5 separate regions of the Homo sapiens genome follow, and all the other regions are linked to region 1. The links are contacts of gene promoters, found by promoter capture Hi-C in blood cells and fetal thymus (Javierre and others, 2016). All regions are on one chromosome and are shown on one strand. Each heading gives the region's core, a stretch centred on a gene start or on the middle of the fragment in contact. The rest is flanking DNA. Distances are from core to core; before and after follow the strand shown. Region 1 holds the start of RAB4A (RAB4A, member RAS oncogene family). Region 2 overlaps NUP133 (nucleoporin 133). Region 3 overlaps NUP133 (nucleoporin 133). Region 4 overlaps NUP133 (nucleoporin 133). Region 5 overlaps NUP133 (nucleoporin 133).

Region 1 (4,495 bases), core at 769-3,268:
TCAAAGCAGTCTCTAAAAATATTTTGAAGAAATTTATTTTCTTGGATCTTCAAAGATCCAAAGTTACTGAGATGCAAAGAATCTTCCACAGTATCATCCAAGGATACTGAAGGGCTCCTTCAAACCTCGCCCTTGTATATTTCTTCTTCCAGTTGTGATACTGCAGTTACATTTGCAAACCAAATGATCCCTTTGGGTGGTTTTTCCAAAACAAATCGTCTTTCCCAAAGGCCTACCTAAGTCTTCATTTTCCACAAAGTAGAAAACTGCCCACAGCTTTGAAATGGCAGCATAATTTGTATTTCTACCACCTTGTCCAGGTTTCAGGGATCTCTGGTCCAGTTTCAGTCAATAATGCTAACTATCACTGCAGCTCACTGACTTCTTTCTTGTACATAGCAGTTTTTCGCAGGAAGAAAACAAATCTAACGAATAGGAATAACTTCAGGTGATGCTGTTTTCTTCCCGCTTCCTGGGATCACTGTCTTTCCTCTGAAATGGTTTTAATCAGAACCAATCTGTTATACTCAGGAGCCTAAATCAAACACGACATGCAGAGAGACAAACAAGAAAGCAACAAATGATCTGAGCCACTGAACAAGAAATATATATAAAACAGTTTTAGGAATTACAGCTGTCACAACTTTTCACCATGGGGCCTTCTCTGTGATTTAGAAAAAACTGCATTTATTTGTTATTAGGATCGGAGACAAGAGAAAAATACCGACCCAAATAGCCACTGGGGAAGAGGGAAGCTCTGATGCCAATTTATGTGGAGGATGGAGCCAAACTGACTCACACACACACACACAAAAGTATGTACTGGCATTTTCCACACAGTCCAGGTCACTTGGGAGCTTAGCCAAGGATATTTTGAGCATTCGACTACCTATTGTGAACAAGGTTGGGAACTATGAGGCGCTATGTGGCCCTGATCAAGCTCAGATGGGCCAAATCCTCAACCAAAATTCTCTTTCCCATAAATGTTTATCTCTACATTTCCCACAGAAGGGGATTCTAACTCAGTTTTGCTTCTGAAACCAAACTATCCAAGGCCAGGTGAGATGACTCATGCCTGTAATCCCAGCAATTTGGGAGGCCAAGGAGGGAGGATGCTTGAACTCAGGAGTTCAAGACCAGCCTGGGCAACATAACAAGACCCCATCTCTACAAAAAATTTAAAAATTGGCGCGGTGTGGTCGTGTGAGCCCCTAGCCCCAGCTACTCAGGAGGCTGAGGCAGGAGAATCGGTTGGGCTGGGCTGACAGTGCCAGACCCTGTTAAAAAATAAAAATTAAAAAAACTCCTAAATTTGGAAACACATCCCCAGCTGAGGGCCGGGAGATACTTCTCAACCGTAATCCAGAACCCTCTAAAATGGGATGTGGAGAGGCTGCAGCCTGTAGTCTTGCGATGACCTTTTAGCACCTGGGCATCTTGCGCTTCTGTCATTCCGCCCACACCCGCTCAGCTCCATCCAAGAGGGCCCGGCAGTTTGGAGTGAAAGCTTAGCTTCCCAACGGGTAAATGAACCTGCCTCCCATTCACAGGGCGGCCTCTGGCTGGACACCTGGGGCCTACTGCCTCCTTGTTACACATTAACCAAGTTCTGGCCTCCATCGTAACAGCGTCAGGGAAGTTTTTTCCTGGCTGACAGCCGCAGATGATGACCGAAGACAACGTCTTAACTGAGACGGGCCAATTTGGCAAATGGACTGCTTTCCTCCCCAGTGCGGGCACCTTCCTCCTCTGTCCGGCAACTGGACCCCACTGTCCCCAGCCCTCTGTCACCCCCAAACCTGCCCACCGCCCGCCTCTACCCGACCCTCCCTCAGGGAAATCGGGACTCAGCCCCCAACGCCCCCACCTGCCGCTCTGCCCACCTCAGCGCACACCGCCAGAGCGCCCAGCCCGCGCACGTGCTTCCGGCGCGCGCCGAAGTCCTCACGCGCCCCGCCCCGGCCTCCCCGTGCGCACGCGCGAACGCGGGGTGGGCCGGGCCTCGCGTAGCCCATCTCCTCTTCCTCCTCGCGGTCGCGGCCGGACGGAGGGTGGAGGGCCCTGCGCCTGCGCGGAGCTGGAGTCCGGCTGGGCCGCAGCCGCTGGGAGACCGGCGGTTGCCGTGGGGACCGGTCGGGCCCCTCCCTCCTCCGGTCCCCCGCCCCAGGTCCTTCCCCACCGAGACGCGCCGGCGGACCGCGGGCGAGTGCAGCCGGTGACCCGGCGAGAGGCGGCGCCGCTCCCAAGATGTCGCAGACGGCCATGTCCGAAACCTACGGTACGAGGCCCGGGCTGGCGGGGCGCGCGGGTCGGGCCGCGGGGGGCGTCGGTGGCGCGGGGCCGGGCCTGGGCTGCGGGGGTCTTGAGGGTGGCGGTGGCGCCGGCCGGAGCCGGGGGACGGATCTCGGAGGTGTCTGGGCTTGGGACCGGGATGGGGGACGCGGGCCGCTGGGGGCTCGGGTGGGGTAGCGGGTGCGCGGGGCGCGGGGGCGCTGTGCACAGCGCATTGGCGTGATCCGCCTTTTCAAGTTTCCTCTTGCTCTTTCTCTGCTCTTGCACTCTTAGCGCTTTTCCCCTCTCAGTCTAATGTAAATAACTGAAGGTTTGAAAAGCCAGCTTGATGTTCGGTTTCAGCTGCGATATTATCCCCAGCGAGCCTGTGAAGGGCTTAGGGCGACGCCTGTGTTCCTCAAATACTTCAGTTTGACCTTTCCTGGTTTGGAATTCCTTGCTTTACATTGGGATTACAGTGAGGAGTTATTAATAGGCTAATTCATTCATCTCTTCCTCCGGAGACCTCTTGCTTCGTTTATTTCTCCCTCCCTCTCAGTGTTTTTTAGCCTTTTCTGGGTTGCATTTTGGCTATTTATAAACATGTCTTGTCTCCTTCTTAAGACCGTAAGCACCTTGGAAGCAAAGCCCTGGCTGTTTAATCTTTGTTTCCCCTGCAGCACCCAGACCTGGAGGTGCTTGACAAATACTGTTTTGAATAAGCGAAAGCTTTCCCAGTGCATATGCTGTGTGCTTTTTTTTTTTTCTCCCCTTTTTTGGCCTTGCGTGGTAAGAATAAACAACTTGTACTTTGTATCAGAGTTGAATATTAATAGATGTTTACCAGTCCCTAATCACTCTTTCAGATGTATGTATTCTCAGATTAAGACTTTGATTTGGAGTTTTACAGTCCCAGAGAGAGGCTCAAGTTCAAAATTACATACCTCAAGCCAAATTAGTCCTGTCTCCATCTGTCCTGGCATGCTGCTTCCTTCTCTGCAACAAATACTGTGGAATGGCATTAGGGAAGCGAGCACCGTGCTGGGAGGGCTGTACATCCTGCAGAAACACAGCAGACACGGCTCTGGTCTCATGGAGCGTAGTCTATTGAGGGAATGCAGTATTAATCCAATTGTGATACTAATGAGTGAATAATTAAAAACCAGGCAAGAGTTCTGAAGGAGTGTGGTCCGTGAAAGTGTGTTAGAAAGAAAGATGACCCAGACAGGGGTGTCAGGGAGGCATTAACCAGGCAGCACGCAGAACATCTCAGGCCTGTGGGAAGGGTAACTCAAGAAGGGTGTGTTTTGAGTACCACGCTGGAGAGGTGGATGAGGAGGCAGAGAGGAGAGGGTCTTGAGGAAGGCGTCAGTTTGTCTTGTAAGAAAAAATGGGAACTTTTGGAAGGGCTTCCATGCTGGGGTCACAGTGCATTTGGTCCACCTTCAGTGAGTGACTCCTGTGACTGGTACTGCCCTGTTCTTGGTGACAAAGGGGCATGACATCTGTTCCTAGAAGGCGTAGGAAATCCTCCAGTAAGTCGATGCCTTCATCAGGACAAGTGTTTGCAAATGTTTCTGCAAATGGCAGTGGTCTGGTTCTTCCTGTAGAGAACCACAGTCAGAAATGTTGTAAGGAAAACATGGTCTTTAGCAATTTTTGGTTACATCTTTGCACTTCTTTATTTTCAAGTGCTCTTTAGCCCAGGCTTAGTTTCTTTAACCTGAGTAAGGAGCACGGAGCACTAGGGGAAGGGTGGAATGTCCAAATAAGAAAAGCAAGTGGGGGTCATGAATCAGTAAGAAAGGATTGGAAGAGTTCAGGAGATAGAGCTTTTATGTTTCATTTTTCGTATACGCATGATAACAACTGATAAAATAGAGCTTATCTTTGGCATCTCCACTTCAGACACAGTTAACTGAACTTTTGAGCTTCACAGATTGATTACATTCTGATCATAAGGCTTTGACCATTAGTATTCTTATTTCATGGTAACTTCCAAGTATGTTTTTACTTTGCAACTCTGAATTGAATCTTTTCTTCTAATAGAGGAAATTAATCGAAAACTAGTAGAAACTAATAAATAGAAAATGAGGCCAGAGGTGATGGCTCACGCCTGTAATCCCAGCACTTTGGAAGGCCGAGTTGGGCGGATCACTTGAGCTCAGGAGTTCAATACCAGCCTGGCCAACATGGCGAAACCCCAGCCCTATTAAAAATACAA
Region 2 (4,130 bases), core at 444-2,943, 190 kb after region 1:
TGTCTCTACTGAAAAATGAACAAAATTAGCCAGGCATGGTGGCGAGCTCCTGTGGTCCCATCTACTGGAAAGCAGGAGGTGTGGGAGGGGGTGAGGTGGGAGAAGTGATTGGACCCAGGAGGTTGAGGCTGTCGTGAACTGTGATCTCGCTACTGGACAAAATTTACAAAGAAACGCGACATACAAATTAGTATCTTCTCATCAAAGTTAACTACAAAAAGATCGTATCATATTCCAAAAGCCCTGATTACAGATTTGAAATGGCAAAGCCATTTCAAGAAAAGGCAACTAAAGGACTCAGTGGCCACACACCCAACACTCATCACCTGATCAGCAAACTGGGTCATGTAGCGCTGGAGTCGGCTCTGGTTGTCAGTCTGCTCACACATTTGTACCAATATATCAAAGTCACAGTATTTCTCTGCTAGAGAAGCAGCCCACAGGTACTGGCCTAGTGAAACTGTGGGAATGAGAAAAGATGGGAAAAAATCCTGTTAGCAAAACTTAAAATCTGTAATAAAAAATGTTACTTGAAATTTTATCTTTATTCCTATTATAAACCAACAATCATTAATGGAATGGAAACCTTCCCACTTACTGGCACTTAGTTTCACAATTCACATCAATTTCTTAAAGATGCAAATTCAGGCCAGGTGCGGTGGCTCACACCTGTAATCCCAGCACTTTGGGAGGCTGAGGCGGGTGGATCACCTGAGGTCAGGAGTTCGAGTCCCGCCAGGCCAATATGGTGAAACCCCATCCCTACCAAAAATACAAAATTAGCCAGTTGTGGTGGCACACGCCTGTAATCCCAGCTACCTGGGAGGCTGAGGCAGGAGAATTGTTTGAACCCGGGAGATGGAGGTTGCAGTGAGCTGAGATTATACCACTGCACTACAGCCTGGGCGAGAGAGTGACGCTCTGTCTCAACAAAAAAAAAAGATGCAAATTCAGACCCTTGTTTCATCACTGCCTCCCCAAAACGCTATTCTCTTCCTTCATGTAAGAGTAAAGCAAACTCTTCCCAGTCCTAGCCTGGAGTATAATGTGTCCTTTGCCAAACAGCCATAATATCTTATCTGTACCCCTCAAGCAGCCCTCACCAGGCTCTACTTTGCAATCCAGTTATTCACGTAAAGGTCTGTGATGCTAAGCTCTTTAAGGGTAGTCTCCACATGTTGTTTGTTTATGTATTTATTAATTGTCTTCAGTATCATCTATGGTACTTATACCTAGATAGTACTGGAAAAAAAGTTGAATAAATGAGCACAGAAAGCTGTGCATATTTGCTTTAAGTTCTTTATTACAGTTGGATTAACACTACCACACTGAATATACTGAATTAACTATTCAACCCTTTCATCCATTCAGCAAATTTAAAACTCTTGCCAAGTATCATGAACTTACGAAGAGGAGATAAGAGATCTGATCTTTTCTGTAGGTATTCCATCTCCAGATTGTCATATCTTTCCCGATTACTGGATTTATCCACAGACTTAAGCTGAGAAACATAACCATCCAGGAAGCAATCGATCAGGGCTACCAGCTGCTCGGTCACGATGTTTCGGAGGTTGCTGTCTGCCTGTGGATAAGCCACCTTCAGGACAATCTCATGCTGGCGTATTATTACCGTTCGGATGCCACCAGGACCACTTGTTGCTGTGAAATTACACAAAATAATATGGTTAAAGTAAGGGATCTAGTGATGGCTAAAGGAAAGACTAATAGCATAAAAATTATGCCTCTTCATCACTGCTGGAAAATTACATTGAACAGGGATTCAGGTGATACCTGTCAATGCCCTGCTTGAATCCCATCTTCTCCAAGGAGATTTCCTCAGCAAAGCCAGGTAAACATGACTCTTCTTCCTTCTAAATTCCTTTAATGCTACTCCACTTACTTTCTTGTATTAAATCAACATAAAATATAGTCCATACCTCCGGGGCCAGGACTGCTTCTATGAATAACTATTTGAACTAAAACCTAGTAAATGCATAAGTACCAGTTGAATACATAAATTATAGAGAGATCGATAAATAAGAGCAAGGGACGAATAAAGTGATTTTGACAAGAGCTGCTCATTTTGGAGACGGCACTTTTTCATTTCACTTACAAACCTACGCTAGGGGAATAACACAACTTCTAAAAATGATGGGTCATTAGAAATATATTTTGAACAACTGTTAATAAATCAGTATATTACCCGTCCATGGAACATATTCAGGTTCTTTTTCTAGTGATTCTTCTCTTCTATACAAAGAGTTTCTATTTTGGCGATAATGACTAGCAGCCTGCAGCATATCCTGGAAAAAAAGTTAATGTGTTATCACATGCAAAAGGTGATGGATCACAGTATTTCTGAAGATAATTTAAGACAGCAAAGTAAATTAGTAAGAAAAAATACTCAGGGGCCAGGAATGTTGGCTCACACCTGTAATCCCAGTGCTTTGGGAGGCTGAGGTAGGAGGATTGCTCCTAGCCTGACAACATAGTGAGACCCCATCTGTACAAAAAATTTTTAAAATTACCTGGGCATCGTGGCGTGCACCTACCGTCCCAGCTACTTGGGAGACTGAGGCAGGAGGACTGCTTGAGCCCAGGAGGTGGAGGCTGCAGTGAGCTATAATCAAGCCACTATAAACCCAGCCTGGGCAATGGAGTGAGACCATGTCTCACAAAAAAAAAAAAAAAAAGAAAAGAAAAGAAAATGAGAGAAAAAAGTCAGCACAGATCTGCATGATTACTTTTTGGTTCTTTCTGCTTTTGAAATTTGTTTTACTCCATAATTTAACTTCAGTTTTGGCAAATAATAGTAGGAAAATTATTTGGCAAAGTAGGAAAATCATTACTACAAGTCCACTAGCTAAAATTAAATGGAACGTTTTAGTCAATAGTAAAAGTAGCAAGGTTTTGAGTAATTAAAAAAATAGAAATGAGAAATATTTAGACAGTTACATTAACAATACGTTTGCAATCAGGCATGGTGTCTCAGTTCTGTAATCCCAACACTCTTGGAGGTTGAGGCAGGAGGAAGTCGTGAGCCCAGAGTTCAAGGTTACAGTGAGCTATGATGGTGCCACTGCACTCCAGCTTGGGTGACAGTGAGACCTTCTCTCAGAAAAAAAACCAACTAAAAAATTGCAAAGATACAAACACATCTTCCCAAATGAAAGGTTTATTATTCTACCAAATAGAAACTCAAGATTATAGAAATTTATTAATAGGCACCAGGCTAACATTCAAAATACTCATTAGCTGATTAATAATAAAATGACATTTTTCTAACTTTTTTGGGATTAACAAATGTCTACAACCTTATACATTATCGGCAATACAGAGTAGGAACATGGAAACCAGTTCCTTGTCTATCCATGCCCTGGGCTTTGATTTGCTGAAGCCTTTACTATATTTTTGTACCTTGAGAATATTGTTCACATTGATCACCACTTCAGCCCATTCAATGGAATCCATAGGTGCATCCCTCAAGACTTGCTCCTCATGCTCCAGTAAGCACTCACAGATGGTATCTACTTGGGATACCTGAGAGAATACACAGAAGTAAACTACTTACAACAAAAATTATGGTGATGGGTAACAACTACCCAGTGAGTTTTACTCATTAAGCCATATCCTCAGACCTATAGATGGAGGAAAATTTATTGGCAGTTGATGGTAAAAATAAATTCAAAAATCAAGAAAAGTCACATCTCCTAACTTTTAAAAGTCAGAGTGCCCAAATAAGTCTTATAAACAGGCAAATTCTGGATTGTTACTGAGATTTTTAAGCGATGATATTTTTTATTATAGCTACTCTGCTCAGTGCATCTTTAAATAGCACTAGGTTACAGATGACATCACTTTACAATGTAATACCCCAAACTAATGAACTAATAGACTAAAATAATGACCTCAAAAAGTGAACTTGCTAATTTCTTTCTTTGAGGAATTCCCCTTCTTCAGACATAACAGAAACATTTGTAGAACAGAAGTAAGCAACATAAGAGAATGAACTAAATACATAACTTCTAACTCTTCCTTTGTCATTAATTAATACATGGAGATAACAGTGCAAAAATACCATCAGGCACTGAAACTCCTGTTTCAAGTTCAAGTCTGCACTTAAGCTTTCC
Region 3 (4,172 bases), core at 1-2,500, 170 kb after region 1:
ACTTTCAAGTCTAACAATGTGATATCCTTTACAGGGGCTGCCTGAGTGTTTTTCCCTCCAGTGGTCAAAATAGCCATTCTATTTAAAGTGTTTAATAAGATCTGAAACGTTTTCATGTATTCCCAAGCTTGAAAACAAGTATTTCAAACACTTATATGATCCCCTATTTAGGGAATAATTTAGTAGAAACACTGTTATGAACGCTAGCTACAGGATCTCAAAATGTGTTTACAGTATAAATCTAAAATTAGATAGGCAAAAGAATCATTTCTTCACAAGTCATCCATAGAGCTGAAAAGACAGTGAACATGAACTAAATGGATTGTTTGACATCTGTGTAGTTACAAACAAACATACACAATTTTCTCATTTGACAAATAGAGAAAACTGGATGAAAATTTTCAAATTAATAAGCCAATAATATTTTTATAATTTGTTACATTACCATAAGATTCTCAAAATCAGATACTGGTTTAAAAAAAAAACTCAAAGGGCCTTGCATCATTTTTTGGTTCTTTTTTTTTTTTTTTTTCAGGCGGAGTCTCACTCTGCTGGCCAGGCAATGGCGCGATCTCGGCTCACAGCAACCTCTGCCTTCTGGGTTCAAGCGATTCTCCTGCCTCAGCCACCCCGGTAACTAGGATTACAGGTGCCCACCACTACACCCGGCTAATTTTTTGTATTTTTAGTAGAAATGGTGTTTCACCATGTTGGCCAGGCTGGTCTTGAACTCCTGACTTCAAGTGATCCACCCACCTCAGTCTCCTAAAGTGTTGGGATTACAGGCATGAGCCACTGTGCCCAGCCTATTTTTTGGTTCTTAATTGTAGTTTTTATTTTTTATTGAGACAGGGTCTCCACTCTGTCACCCAGGCTGGAGTGGAATGGTACGATCGTAGCTCACTGTAGCTTCAATCCTTTGACCTTTCGAGCTCAAGTGATCCTCCCACCTCAGCTTCCTGAGTAGCAGGGACTATAGGCATGCACCACGAAGCCTAGCTAATTTTTTTTTTTTTTTCTGTAGAGGTGGGGGTCTTGCTATGTGGCCCAGGCTGGTCTTGAACTCCTGAGCTCAAGGGATTCTCCTGCCTCGGCCTCCCAAAGTGCTGGGATTACAGGCGTGAGCTACCGTGCCTGGCAAAATAAGACTTTTATAACACCATTCTCAACTATTAAATGTTGGTGACTAACTAGAAAAAAATTTAAACTCCATTTAATGAGACATGCATTTTGTTCTGTATGTATAATGTATTTCAGGTAACATGTAAAAACAAACCTTGTGGGTAATTTAAATATGTCTGCAGGAAGAATGCACAGGCTGAAGTAGCTGTTGCACTGTCAATGCCTATGAAATATAATGCAAGGTTATCTGTATCTCCCTACCTTCAGAATCTGTCCTTTAAAAACACTATTGTACATGAAAGCCATATTAAGAAGGTTCCAAAAGTACATTTGTCCTGTTATTAAAAAACCGCACGCCTTATATATGTAAAATATACATATATAATACACACACATATATAATTTTTTTTTTTTTTTTTTTTTTTGAGACGGAGTCTCGCTCTGTCACCCAGGCTGAAGTGCAGTGGCACCATCAGAACTCACTGCAGCCTTCACCTCCTGGGCTCAAGCAATCCTCCTACCTCAGCCTCCCCAGTAGCTGGAAACACAGGCATGCACCCCTGTGCTCAACTCTTTTTTTTTTTTTTTTTTTTTTTTAAAATAGGGACAGGATCTCCCTATGTTGCTCCAGCTGGTCTTGAACTACTGGGCTCAAGTGATTCTCCCACCTTGGCCTCCCAAAGTGTGAGCCACTGCACCTGCCTATATTTTTATTTAAATAAAAGTTTCAGCTGGGCGTGGTGGCTCATGCCTGTAATCCCAGCAATTTGGGAGGCTGAGGCGGGCAGATCACGAGGTCAGGAGTTCGAGGCCAGCCTGACCAACATGGTGAAACCCTGTCTCTACTAAAAATACAAAAATTAGCCAGACATGGTGGTGCGTGCCTGTAATCCCAGCTACTCAGGAGGCTGAGGCAGGAGAATCACTTGAACCCAGGAGGTGGAGGTTGTAGTAAGCTGAGATTGAGCCACTGCACTCCAGCCTGGGCAACAGAATGAGACTCCGTCTCAAAAAAAAGAAAAAAAAAAGTTTCCACTGTTCTTGTCCTTTATGAAATTATGACTTTCCATTCCTGTTTTTCACCTGTTTTATAATCCACTAAGAATAACAAAAACTGCAAAGCTGCCCTTAAATATTAGTGCTAGATACTTAATTAGACACAATTCAGTCTGTGGCATTTTTACAGCTATGAAAGGAAGCTACAAATCTGAATACTAATGCTTGGAGATCAGTGTGGACAGACTCCAAATGAAAGCTTCTTGGTTCTTTTTTTTTTTTCTTTAGACAGAGGCCAAGGCAGGTGGATCATGAGGTCAGGAGTTCGAGACCAGCCTGGCCAATATGGTGAAACCCTGCTTTTACTAAAAATACAAAAATTAGCCAGGCATGGTAGCACAGGTCTGTAGTTCCAGCTACTCCAGGGGCTGAGGCAGAAGAATTGCTTGAACCCGGGAGGTGGAGGCTGCACTGAGCCGAGATCATACCACTGCACTCCAGCCTGAGTGACAGAGCAAGACTCCGTCTCAAAAAAAAACCCAAAAAACTGAGGAATGACACTGTAATTTCCAACGGTATAGTAACAAACCACTTACCATCTTTTAAAAGTTTCTGTAAGATCTTCACAAATATACTGTCTTTAGATACTTCAATTGGATCATCTTTGCCATCAGAACTGGACCAGCTAGAAAACAAAATCATTATGAGGGAAAAATGAAATCACTGATATAGCTGAATTAAATGATTTGTTTGCTATCATGGTTTTATTTTGATGGCTGTGGGGGATGGAGAATCTGAGTTTTGTGATACTGTTTCAAATCATTTAAATAAAGGCACTTTACATGCTGAATACCCTGACAGTTTCTACATTAGATATAAGACATTACACTCTAGGGAACATGCAAGAGACGCCAAGGAAAACACATTTAAAAAAAGATGTTATACTCAAGGTAGCTACTGACTCAATATAACTCTTACCTATTTGATTTCAGAAACCAAGTAGTGAGGTATCTTTCTGAAGAAAATTCTATTAGTAAGTAACATATTCAGTATGGACCCCAAAGTATGACTCACTGCAGCTTCGAACTCCTCCAGCTCAAGTGTTCCTCCCACCTCAGCCTCCCGAGTAGCTAGGACCATAGGCATGCAACCACTTTGTGCCTGGCTAATTTTTTACTTTTGTGTAGAGACAAAGTCTCGCTATGTTCCCAGGCTGGTCTTGAACTCCTGGGGTCCAGCAATCCTCCTGTCTTGGCCTCCCAAAGTGCTGGGATTGCAGGCATGAGCCACTGGACCCAGCCAGAAGCTTTCTTTATGTAGTTGTGACTATCTACTACTAAAATAAAAATACCAAACCACTGCTCTGTAATCAATGGACATGATAACTTTAAAATTTTTAAACAAGAAACTAAGACAAGGAATTCTAATCAAAATGATAGCATCCTTTTGTATGACTGGGATGGGACCAAACAATCAAGTAGGCAGAAAGCTAGAAGCTTCAGGGACTGACCTCTAAGACTAAACTTAACAGCAATTTTAACTATTTTGGAATGATCAGAGGAGGGAAGAAATGCTTTAGTAAAAATAGCTCTTCTATAATATTTTACCACAGGAAAAAGGAAAATTGTGAGTAGGAGAAGGCTTTTAGCAGTCAATTCATGCTTTGTTTAAAATTCTTTTCCTGGAAAGAATTTGTTCCTTCAACTGATTATTCTTAGTCTTTGTCATTGAATCGTAACATAAACACCATTTCCATAGGTGGAAGTCCTCCTCTGCAGAAAGGATATGATTGTGAGAAAGTAGTACTTGCCAGGCGCGGTGGCTCATGTCTGTAATCCCAGCACTTTGGGAGGCCGAGGCAGACAGATCACCTGAGGTTGGGAGTTTGAGACCAGCCTGACCAACATGGAGAAACCCGGTCTCTACTAAAAATACAAAAAAATTAGCTGGGCGTGGTGGCGCATGCCTGTAATCCCAGCTACTTGGGAGACTGAGGTAGGAGAATCGCTTGAACTTGGGAGGCGGAGGTTGCGGCGAGCCGAGATTGAGCCACT
Region 4 (4,424 bases), core at 620-3,119, 210 kb after region 1:
AAGGGCTTCTGTGATCTCTGTGAAGTAGGAAGTTAAGTCCTCTGCTAAGTCTGAGGGAAGTGGGAGGAGACTGGAAAAGGGCTGTCATGGTCCCTTGGTAGAACAGGAGACACAGCTGACTGGAGAAACGCAGAAAAACTCTTGAAAGCGTGAAAGGCCAGGGTGAAGCTGGTGACCCAGTCACGCTACAGGTTATGAAAATACAAAGGTGACTATGGCAAGATTTAATAAAAAATTACAGAAAAAGTTCCCCAAAACTCTCATGAACAAAAGATTTAGTGTTTTTTGGGCTAAATAAAATGAAAACCAAAATAACATAAAAATCAATTTCAAAGAAATGATGCTATAAAAACAGTAATATTACCTTAGCAAAAGATTAAACAGACAGTCACACTTAAAAGTGTTATCTACCAATTGTGACCCCAGGGGCCATCTGGCAATGTCTGACGATAACTTTGGGCATCACAAGTTGGGGGAAAGGGTGCTAATGGCATCTAGCAGGAAGTGGCTGGTGATGCTGTTAAACAGCTTACAATGCACCGCTGGAGTGCGGTGACGGGATCTCGGCTCACTACAACCTCCGCCACCTGGGTTCAAGCGATTCTCCTGCCTCAGTCTCCTGAGTAGCTGAGATTACAGGCATGTGCCACCACACCCAGCTATTTTTTTTTTTTTTTTTTTTTAAGAAGAGACAAGGTTTCACCATGTTGGTCAGGCTGGTCTCGAAGTCCTGATCTCAAATGATCTGCCTGCCTTGGCCTCCAAAGTACTGGGATTACAGGTGTGAACCATCACACCCGGCCTCAAATGACAATGTTAATGGGGTTGAGAAATCCAGCTTTAAAGGCACCACAATTCTGTTTGTAAGGAGTCTACATCTTTAAGAGAGCTAGCTGACACTCCCCCAGAAATCATCCCTTATTAAGTCCATAGTACTTCACCCATGTTGGGCAGGATGAGTTCAGCACAGCTGTGCTACAGGGCCCATGACACTGTTCCTGAGGGTACTGCTTGCTCAGGACTTAGATCAGGGGTCCCTTCTTGTGCCTAATAATTTTCCCCTGTAAAACATCTTAAGATGACTACACCAGGTTGAATAGTGTCTCCCACAAATTCATATCTACCCAGTGCCTCAAAATGCAACCTTATTTGGAAATAAGGTTTTTGCAGATACAATTTGTTAAATTATGATGAGTCTAAATCCAATGACTGATGTCCTTATAAGAAGGCCACGTGGGCTGGGCATGGTGGCTCACACCTGTAATCCCAGCACTCTGGGAGGCTGTGGTGGGTGGATCTTGAGTCCAGGAGTTTGAGCCCAGCCTGGCCAACATGGTGAAACCTCGTCTCTATTAAAAATTCAAAAAATTAGCCGGGCATGGCAGTGTGCACCTGCTGCTTGGGAGGCTGAGGCAGAAGAATTGCTTGAACCAGGGAGGCAGAGGTTGCAGTGAGCCGAGATCACACCACTGCACTCTGGCCTGGATGACAGAGTGAGACTCTGTCTCAAAAAAAAAAAAAAAGGCCATGTGAATGTGAGGACAGCTACGTGACAATGGAGGCAGAAACTGGAGTGACACATCTACAAACCAAGGATTGCTAGCAGCCACCCGGAGCTGAGAGAGGTGAAGACAGATCCTTTCTCAGAGCTTTCAGAGGGAGGGCCCTGCTCATGCCTCGCTCTCAGACTTCTGGCCTCCAGAACTGTGAGAGAAGACACTTGCGTTGTTTGAAGCTCCTGGCTTGTGGTGATTTGTTATGGCAGCCACAGGAAACAAATCTAATGACTGGTCACTTGCTGCATTATCATTTACATTTTGAGATGCCACAAATGTGACAGAATTTTAATTACAGGATAAACTTGTGAAAGATAAAAACACAGTACTTCAACTGAGATTTTTGAAGACTGAACCATGTAAAAGAACAAGATTAAAAGAATATAATTTTAAACAGAAACAAAAAACTTGCCTAATGGTGCCCCCTTCTGGTGACAAACTAAGCTCAGTAGATCACGAGGTACAGAATGTTAGAACTGTAAAAGCACTTTGGAATCTGTTGTCTCTGTGAGTGAGCCGCTATGCATCAGACACCAGTATGAGTGGGATTATGGAACCATGGGCTCAGAACTGGGGGAAATGAAGGTAGTACACTCAGTATATTCCTTCAAAACAAAGATCTGACGATAAACTAATGATCCTTTAGCCATGCTAACTCCCACCCCACTCAATACTTCGAAAAGGAAGAAACAGAAACACAATGGCAGAAATGTTCAGCATCTGTCCAAAGTTTCCCACAGCTAACAAGGGGCAGAGCAGGGGGGCTGGATCACCATTTTCCTGAGTATTTATTCAAATGTGAATTTGCCATACCTTTTAAGGAAAGTACCAGAATACATGAGCAGAATACATGTCTAAGATAAACTGAAATCTGCATTTGCCTTAAACCCAGAAGAGTATTAGAGCAGCAAGTGTGACCAAGTGAGGACAATCACTCCCCACCCCATACGCGCATCTGCTTAGGCACGCTCTCACTACAGCTGGACTTGCTCTGGCCAACAGGACACTAGCAAACGCCATCCAAGCAAAGACTTAAAGAGTGTGCACTGACACTTGTTCTCTTGCCACTCTAGAACCCTGTGATACATGAATAAGCCCAGGGCAGCCTGCTAGTTGAGGAGACATCACAGGAATAGAGAGCGAGCTGGCCAGCCTATGGCCCAGAAATGTGAGTACGGTAAAGAGCAGCCAGCCCAGCTGCAGACCAAAATGAGTGAGCCTACTCCGAAAAGTAAAACTGCCCCGAGTCCAGCCCCAACAGTCAAACTGCAGAATTGTCAGCTATGTTAAATGAGTCACTAAGGTTTGTGGTGATTTTGCGTAAAGCAAAACTCAACTAATAGGCCAGGTCTAATTCTTTTGCTTTTTTTGAGACAGGGACTTGATCTGTCACTCAGGCTAGAATGCAGTGGTGTGATTATGGCTCACAGTAGACTTGGCCTCCCGGGCTCATATGATCCTCCCAACTCAGCCTCTGAGTAGCTGGGACTAGAGGCGTGCATCACCATGCCCGGCTAATTATTTTTAAAATTTTTCTTTGTAGAGATGAGGTCTATGTTGTCCAGACTGGTCTCGAACTTCCGGGCTCAAGAGATCCTTCTGCCTCAGCCTCCCAAAGTGCTGGAATTACAGGTGTGAGCCACCACACCAGGCCATAATTCTTTAATATTACCAATAAAACTTTGCATGCGGCTGGAAGTGGTGGCTCACGCCTGTAATCCCAGCACTTTAGGAGTCAGCCTAAAATCAGGAGTTTGAGACTAGCCTGGCCAACATGGTGAAACTCCATCTCTACTAAAAATAAAAAAATTAGCTAGGTGTAGTGGTACACGCCTGCAGTCCCAGCTACTTGGGAGGCTGAGGCAGGAGAATCGCTTGAACCCGGGAGGCGGAGTTTGCAGTGAGCCAAGATCGCGCCACTGCACTCTAGCCTGGGCGACGGAGTGTCTCAAAAAAAAAAAAAAAAAAAAAAAAACTTTGTAAGCAACTTATTTGCACCTTAACGTTATACGTAAAAGACCCTTGCAAGATGTCTTCATGATCACCATTTTTAATGGTACATTGTTTTTCATGAAGTGGAGAGAGTATGTTAGAGCCCATGTTTTTTCCCTAACCTAGCTAGCTGGAACCCTCCCATGGCTACTAAGTTCAGAAGAACAGTTTATTAAAGTGCTAAAGCTCAAAAAAACATTCTCCTCTTGATAGCATCATTCCTCCAACTTGCTCCCACCAGTCAATAAGTAGCACATGTCAGTAAAACATATCCTCACACATAAAATAATCCATAATTTAAAAAACATGTTATACCTGCAGTATTGCAGAAAGGCAGCTTTCAGCAACTTGATTTTATCTTCCTGGGCTATAGTTTCATTCTTTGTAGTGGTCTCAAAAATCATACTCTGCAAAATAACAAAGTATAGTTTAGAGGTAAAGGCATCTGAATATTCTTAATTATTGGACTAAAAACTGCACCCATCCTATGATAGCAACTCCGCATATACACGAGCTGTTTGCCGTATTGTCTGTACCAGGGGTGTCCAATCTTTTGGCTTCCTTGGGCCACACTGGAAGAATCGTCTTGGCCCACACATAAAATACACTAACATTAATGATAGCTGATGAGTTAAAAAAAAAAAAATTTATGTTTCAAGCAAGTTTACGAATTTGTGTTGGGCTGCATTCAAAGCCATCCTGGGCCGCATGCAGCCCATGGGTTGTGGGTTGGACAAGCTTGGTCCATACCAATTATTCATATACTTATTGAAACACTATAAATAGCATCAAATGATCAACCAAAGTCATACAGAAAAGGTACAGGTAATTCAGGGATTATGTTGTAAGTAAAATAATTTGGACATTTCATCATAA
Region 5 (4,171 bases), core at 256-2,755, 230 kb after region 1:
ATCCTAACCTCTTCCTGGGCTAGAAAAGTCCAGTTAAGAGAAGACTAAGTAAGGTTAAGATGAGTGCTTAGGCTTCCTATGGAACTTTCCCAATTTACTCTTGATTTGTTCATCTGACATTTAAAATTAGCATGACCAAAGAGTAATTATACCAAGTTACCTAGGAAACAATTTCTTAGACTCTCAGCCAAATATCAGGATCCCGCAGCTAACTCAGTATGTCCCCCAGGAATTCACCCTCACCTATTACTCCTAACCACATACACCCTTTTCTAGGCAGCAGTAACACAGAGTTCAGCAGAAGTGAAGAATTGAGGTAAGCAGGAGCCCTGAGTTCCAACGGAACATGGCCAAGGAAGTAATGACTGGTAGAAGAGAGTAGTGTATCTAAGCTGTAACAAACAGAAAAAGGTTGCTGAGGATACGTTACTAGACATGCAAATGATAACCCACTGTTGGAAGTGGACAAGTGAAAAGTTTAACTAGCAACTGGTATCATATTTTCTTATTTTATTAAGCATCATTCAGTAGGTTCAACAAAACATAGTTCTGTCTTCTCAGAAATACGCAAACTCAAAGTTCATTTGCTTATGTGGATAGCATTTAGTCTGATACTTCATTAGGCAGACGGATTAGCATTATATTCATTGGAAATATCAATGACTCTAATTTTATTAAATGTAAACAACACAGATCTTCAAAAGGGGGAAACTTTTTTCCCAATACACAAATGTGTATGCATGCTCATTATTTCACATCACTATGAAAATGCAAACTCTTAATGCCTAAGTAGTTTCCTATTGACTATCCTCCAACTGTAAAAAAATTAGGGTAAAAATGAAAAGTCAATTGGCATTCCTCTCCTCTATCTTGTTCCAGCTCTCTAAAGAGCCATTACCTTAGTAATAGGTGACAGAGCAATCTTCCAAATAATGAGCTTCTCTTTGCACACCAGACAAGCCCATCCACCTTCATCTATGTTAATGGTCAGCTGGTCATCGACTAAAGGAAAAAATGAGGTGGGTGATTAATCTTATAGTATAAATCTTTATTACCACACGCTTTATCAAAAAAAAGTAATTGGCACACTCAGAAACGACTACCTCACAACAAATACTTTTGAATATTCCAAAATTATCAACACCAAAAACAATAGATCTATTAACTCTGATAACCAACTTTAGAAATATATCTAACGCCTGTAATCCCAGCACTTTGGGAGGCCGAGGTGGGAGGATCACGAGGTCAGGAGATCGAGACCATCCTGGCTAACATGGTGAAACTCCAACTCTACTAAAACTACAAAAAATTAGCTGAGTGTGGTGGCACGTGCCTGTAGTCCCAGCTACTTGGGAGGCTGAGGCAAGAGAATCGCTTGAACCTGGGAGGTGGAGGTTCCAGTGAGCCGAGATCGTGCCACTGCACTCCAGCATGGGCAACAGAGCCAGACTCCATCTCAAAAAAAAAAAAAAAAAAAAAAGAAAGAAAAAAGAAATATATCTAAAGGCAAAAAGTGTATTTGGGACATTTAATATTCCTTAATTTTTTGTTACAAACAGACCAGATAGCTTATTTCCTATAAGACATATTTAGGCCAGGCACAGTGGCTCATGCTTATAAATCCCAATATTTTGGGAGGCCACCCTGGGAGGACTGCTTGAGGCCAGCCTGGGCAACATAGTGAGACTCTCTCTCTTAAAAAAAAAAAAAAAAAATAGCCAGGCTTGGCAGTGCACTTCCCAGCTACTAGGGTGACTGAGGCACAGGAGAACCACTTGAGCCCAGGAGATTGAAGCTGCAGTAAACCATGATCACATCACTCCCACCTGGTCAAGAGAGCAAGACTCCATATCAAAAAATAAGTAAGCAGAAACAACAAAAGAGAGGCCAGGCAGGGTGGCTCACGCCTGTAATCCCAGCACTTTGGGAGGCCGAGGTGGGTGGATCATGAGGTCAGGAGTTCGAGACCAGCCTGGCCAACATGATGAAACCCCATCTCTACCAAAAATAGAAAAAAAAATTAGCCAGGCATGGGGGCATGGTGGCGTGCACCTGTAATCCTAGCTACTCGGGAGGCTGAGGCAGGAGAATTACTTGAACCTGGGAGGCAGAGGTTGCATTGAGCTGAGATCGCGCCACTGCACTCCAGCCTGGGCAACAGAGCAAGACTCTGTCTCAAAACAAACAAACAAAAAAGAAATATTTAGCAACATTTATAATTATATCGATAAAGTAAAACAAATAACAAACTCATTAACTATATAAAACATTTCAAGGAAAACAATGTGCTTTTGGAGGACCAAAAGCACATAATTTTCAAATAAGAGCTCCTTAAAGGAATGATAAATTATTTAGTACATGGAGACAAAGAGTTACGTTCTCTATTAAGTGACAAAACTAAATTAGCACATATCTTAAGTATTGGTGGTAAACCTCCACAAATGTGTTAACAGCCCTGGAAATTTTATTAAGTTGAGCTTTGCTCTTTACTTACAGAAAGGTAGAAGGGTGAAGTAAAAGGCATAGACAATGTACAAGCAAAAATATCAAACCAAGCCCAGGCTGAGTGAGGCTTTTTGCTCAACTGAACTATCTGCTCAGTAATTTTCTTTTTCTTGAAAGCACTACAACTCCAGATCCTCGACCGGTGTGCCTTTAAGGGCTGACTTAACAGTAGTTGGCAGGTTTCTAAGTGGGGAAGAGTTCTTCAAGTTGACACACCTCTTTGTTTTATATATCCTAATTTCTAAGGACTCTCTGAATTTCTAGATTTGGGGCTGTGTTATTTAATCTAGTCTGTTAAAATATGAGTAGTACATTAAAAGGTTTAAATGTAAACTGAAATTTTTAGAGGGGAAAAATATACACATATATACCAATATATATATATACATTTATTTATTTAAAACAGAACAATGTATAGAAAGGTTAGTAGTTGTCTGAAAACAACTATCCCTAAAGCTCCCAAGGACCTACAGGCAAGATGTGCCAAGTTCCAGTTGATGAGATATATTCCTTCTTCTAAAACAGAGTAATTTCAGCATTTTTTTTTTACTGTTATTAAGTTATACAGTAAATAGAGTTATTCACAGTATAATACATTTTACATCACGATACACCCATATACAATTTAAGTAAAACGAACAAAATTTACTAAACATATGAGATGCATTCTATTTCTTCTTTTTTTAAATGCTGGTCAAGAACCGCTAAATTTTGGTCACCCCTACAATTTGAAAAATACTGTTCCAGAAAAATCACAAAGATCTAGAATTCAAGCCTTAATAAAAATGACTTCAGCAGATATTAAGGCTGCTCTGAACTTTGCTCTTCCAGTGTCATCCAACTGCTCATCTTTAAAGTTGCCTTTCTAAGCTTGTGTTGATTGTATCTGTCAAAATTCCACACTAATTCTCCACCAACAGACGCTTCTAAAGGTACACCACGACAATGGTAACGTCATAAATTTGTGCACACAGCCTCTGGGATGCTACATAGGATCCAGAAATGGAGGTAGGACTTGATTTTACTGTATTATTAAACCCAATAACATGAGGTGCCAGTTTTGGGGTTTCACGGGAAACTTCATAAACCTGATCAACTCTGTAAACAGGACTGAATTTTGCATATACAGTATTTCCCCCTTTTATCTGCAGTTTCAAATACCTGTGGTCAATCGTAGTCTGAAAATATTAAATGGAAAATTCAAATGAACAATTCCTAAGTTGTAAATTGCATGCTGTTCTGGGTAAAGTGATAAAATCTCATACTGTCCTGCCTAAAGGTTGTGAATCAACCCTTTGTGCAGCATATCCATACTGTATACCCCAAGCTTGTCCAACCCATGGCCCAGGGACACGTGTGGCCCAGGACAGCTTTGAATGCGGTCCAACACAAGTTTGTAAACTTTCTTAAAACATGATAAGATTTATACACAGACCTTTTCATTATTTATTTTTAGCTCATCAGCTATCGTAAGTGTATTTTATGTGTGACCCAAGACAATTCTTCTTCCAAGTGGCCCAGGGAAGCCAAAAGATTGGACACCCCTGAGACTATCCAGCTGTTTGTCACTTAGTAGCTGTCTCAGTTACCAGATGAACTGTCGCAGTAATGCAATGCTTATATTCTCATTTTAGTTAATGACCCCAAACGAAGTACAAGAGTAGTG

Evidence for each region. The method cuts DNA at HindIII sites, captures the fragments that hold promoters and counts their contacts. A CHiCAGO score of 5 or more calls a contact.
Region 2: a contact is called between a fragment that was not itself captured here and the fragment with the promoter of RAB4A in region 1, in 13 of 17 cell types (M2 macrophages, endothelial precursors, megakaryocytes and 10 more). The highest score is 9.4, in M2 macrophages.
Region 3: a contact is called between a fragment that was not itself captured here and the fragment with the promoter of RAB4A in region 1, in 5 of 17 cell types (endothelial precursors, M2 macrophages, megakaryocytes and 2 more). The highest score is 8.3, in endothelial precursors.
Region 4: a contact is called between a fragment that was not itself captured here and the fragment with the promoter of RAB4A in region 1, in 13 of 17 cell types (naive B cells, total B cells, naive CD8 T cells and 10 more). The highest score is 9.3, in naive B cells.
Region 5: a contact is called between a fragment that was not itself captured here and the fragment with the promoter of RAB4A in region 1, in 16 of 17 cell types (total CD8 T cells, total B cells, naive B cells and 13 more). The highest score is 9.5, in total CD8 T cells.

The regions. Positions count from the first base shown.
Region 1 is chr1:229,269,093-229,273,587 of GRCh38, forward strand. It overlaps RAB4A (RAB4A, member RAS oncogene family), which reads left to right and starts at 2,019. Exons shown (of 8, transcript NM_004578.4): 1 at 2,019-2,278. The coding sequence starts at 2,248. It overlaps RAB4A-AS1 (RAB4A antisense RNA 1), which reads right to left and starts at 2,062. Exons shown (of 2, transcript NR_149313.1): 1 at 1,884-2,062. RefSeq lists silencers at 1,831-2,360, 2,401-2,560. The HindIII fragment of the contact is 1,493 bases long and covers 1,506-2,998 here.
Region 2 is chr1:229,463,217-229,467,346 of GRCh38, forward strand. NUP133 (nucleoporin 133) reads right to left here. Exons shown (of 26, transcript NM_018230.3): 16 at 3,418-3,540; 17 at 2,204-2,303; 18 at 1,408-1,659; 19 at 327-460. Among named protein-coding and RNA genes, the nearest start is that of ACTA1, 31 kb to the left of the region's middle. The HindIII fragment of the contact is 4,858 bases long and covers 1-4,122 here.
Region 3 is chr1:229,442,200-229,446,371 of GRCh38, forward strand. It overlaps NUP133 (nucleoporin 133), which reads right to left. Exons shown (of 26, transcript NM_018230.3): 25 at 2,715-2,803. Among named protein-coding and RNA genes, the nearest start is that of ACTA1, 10 kb to the left of the region's middle. The HindIII fragment of the contact is 2,250 bases long and covers 126-2,375 here.
Region 4 is chr1:229,480,191-229,484,614 of GRCh38, forward strand. It overlaps NUP133 (nucleoporin 133), which reads right to left. Exons shown (of 26, transcript NM_018230.3): 12 at 3,864-3,955. Among named protein-coding and RNA genes, the nearest start is that of NUP133, 26 kb to the right of the region's middle. The HindIII fragment of the contact is 4,829 bases long and covers 1-4,284 here.
Region 5 is chr1:229,501,101-229,505,271 of GRCh38, forward strand. NUP133 (nucleoporin 133) reads right to left here. Exons shown (of 26, transcript NM_018230.3): 3 at 899-1,002. Among named protein-coding and RNA genes, the nearest start is that of NUP133, 5.2 kb to the right of the region's middle. The HindIII fragment of the contact is 3,736 bases long and covers 1-3,373 here.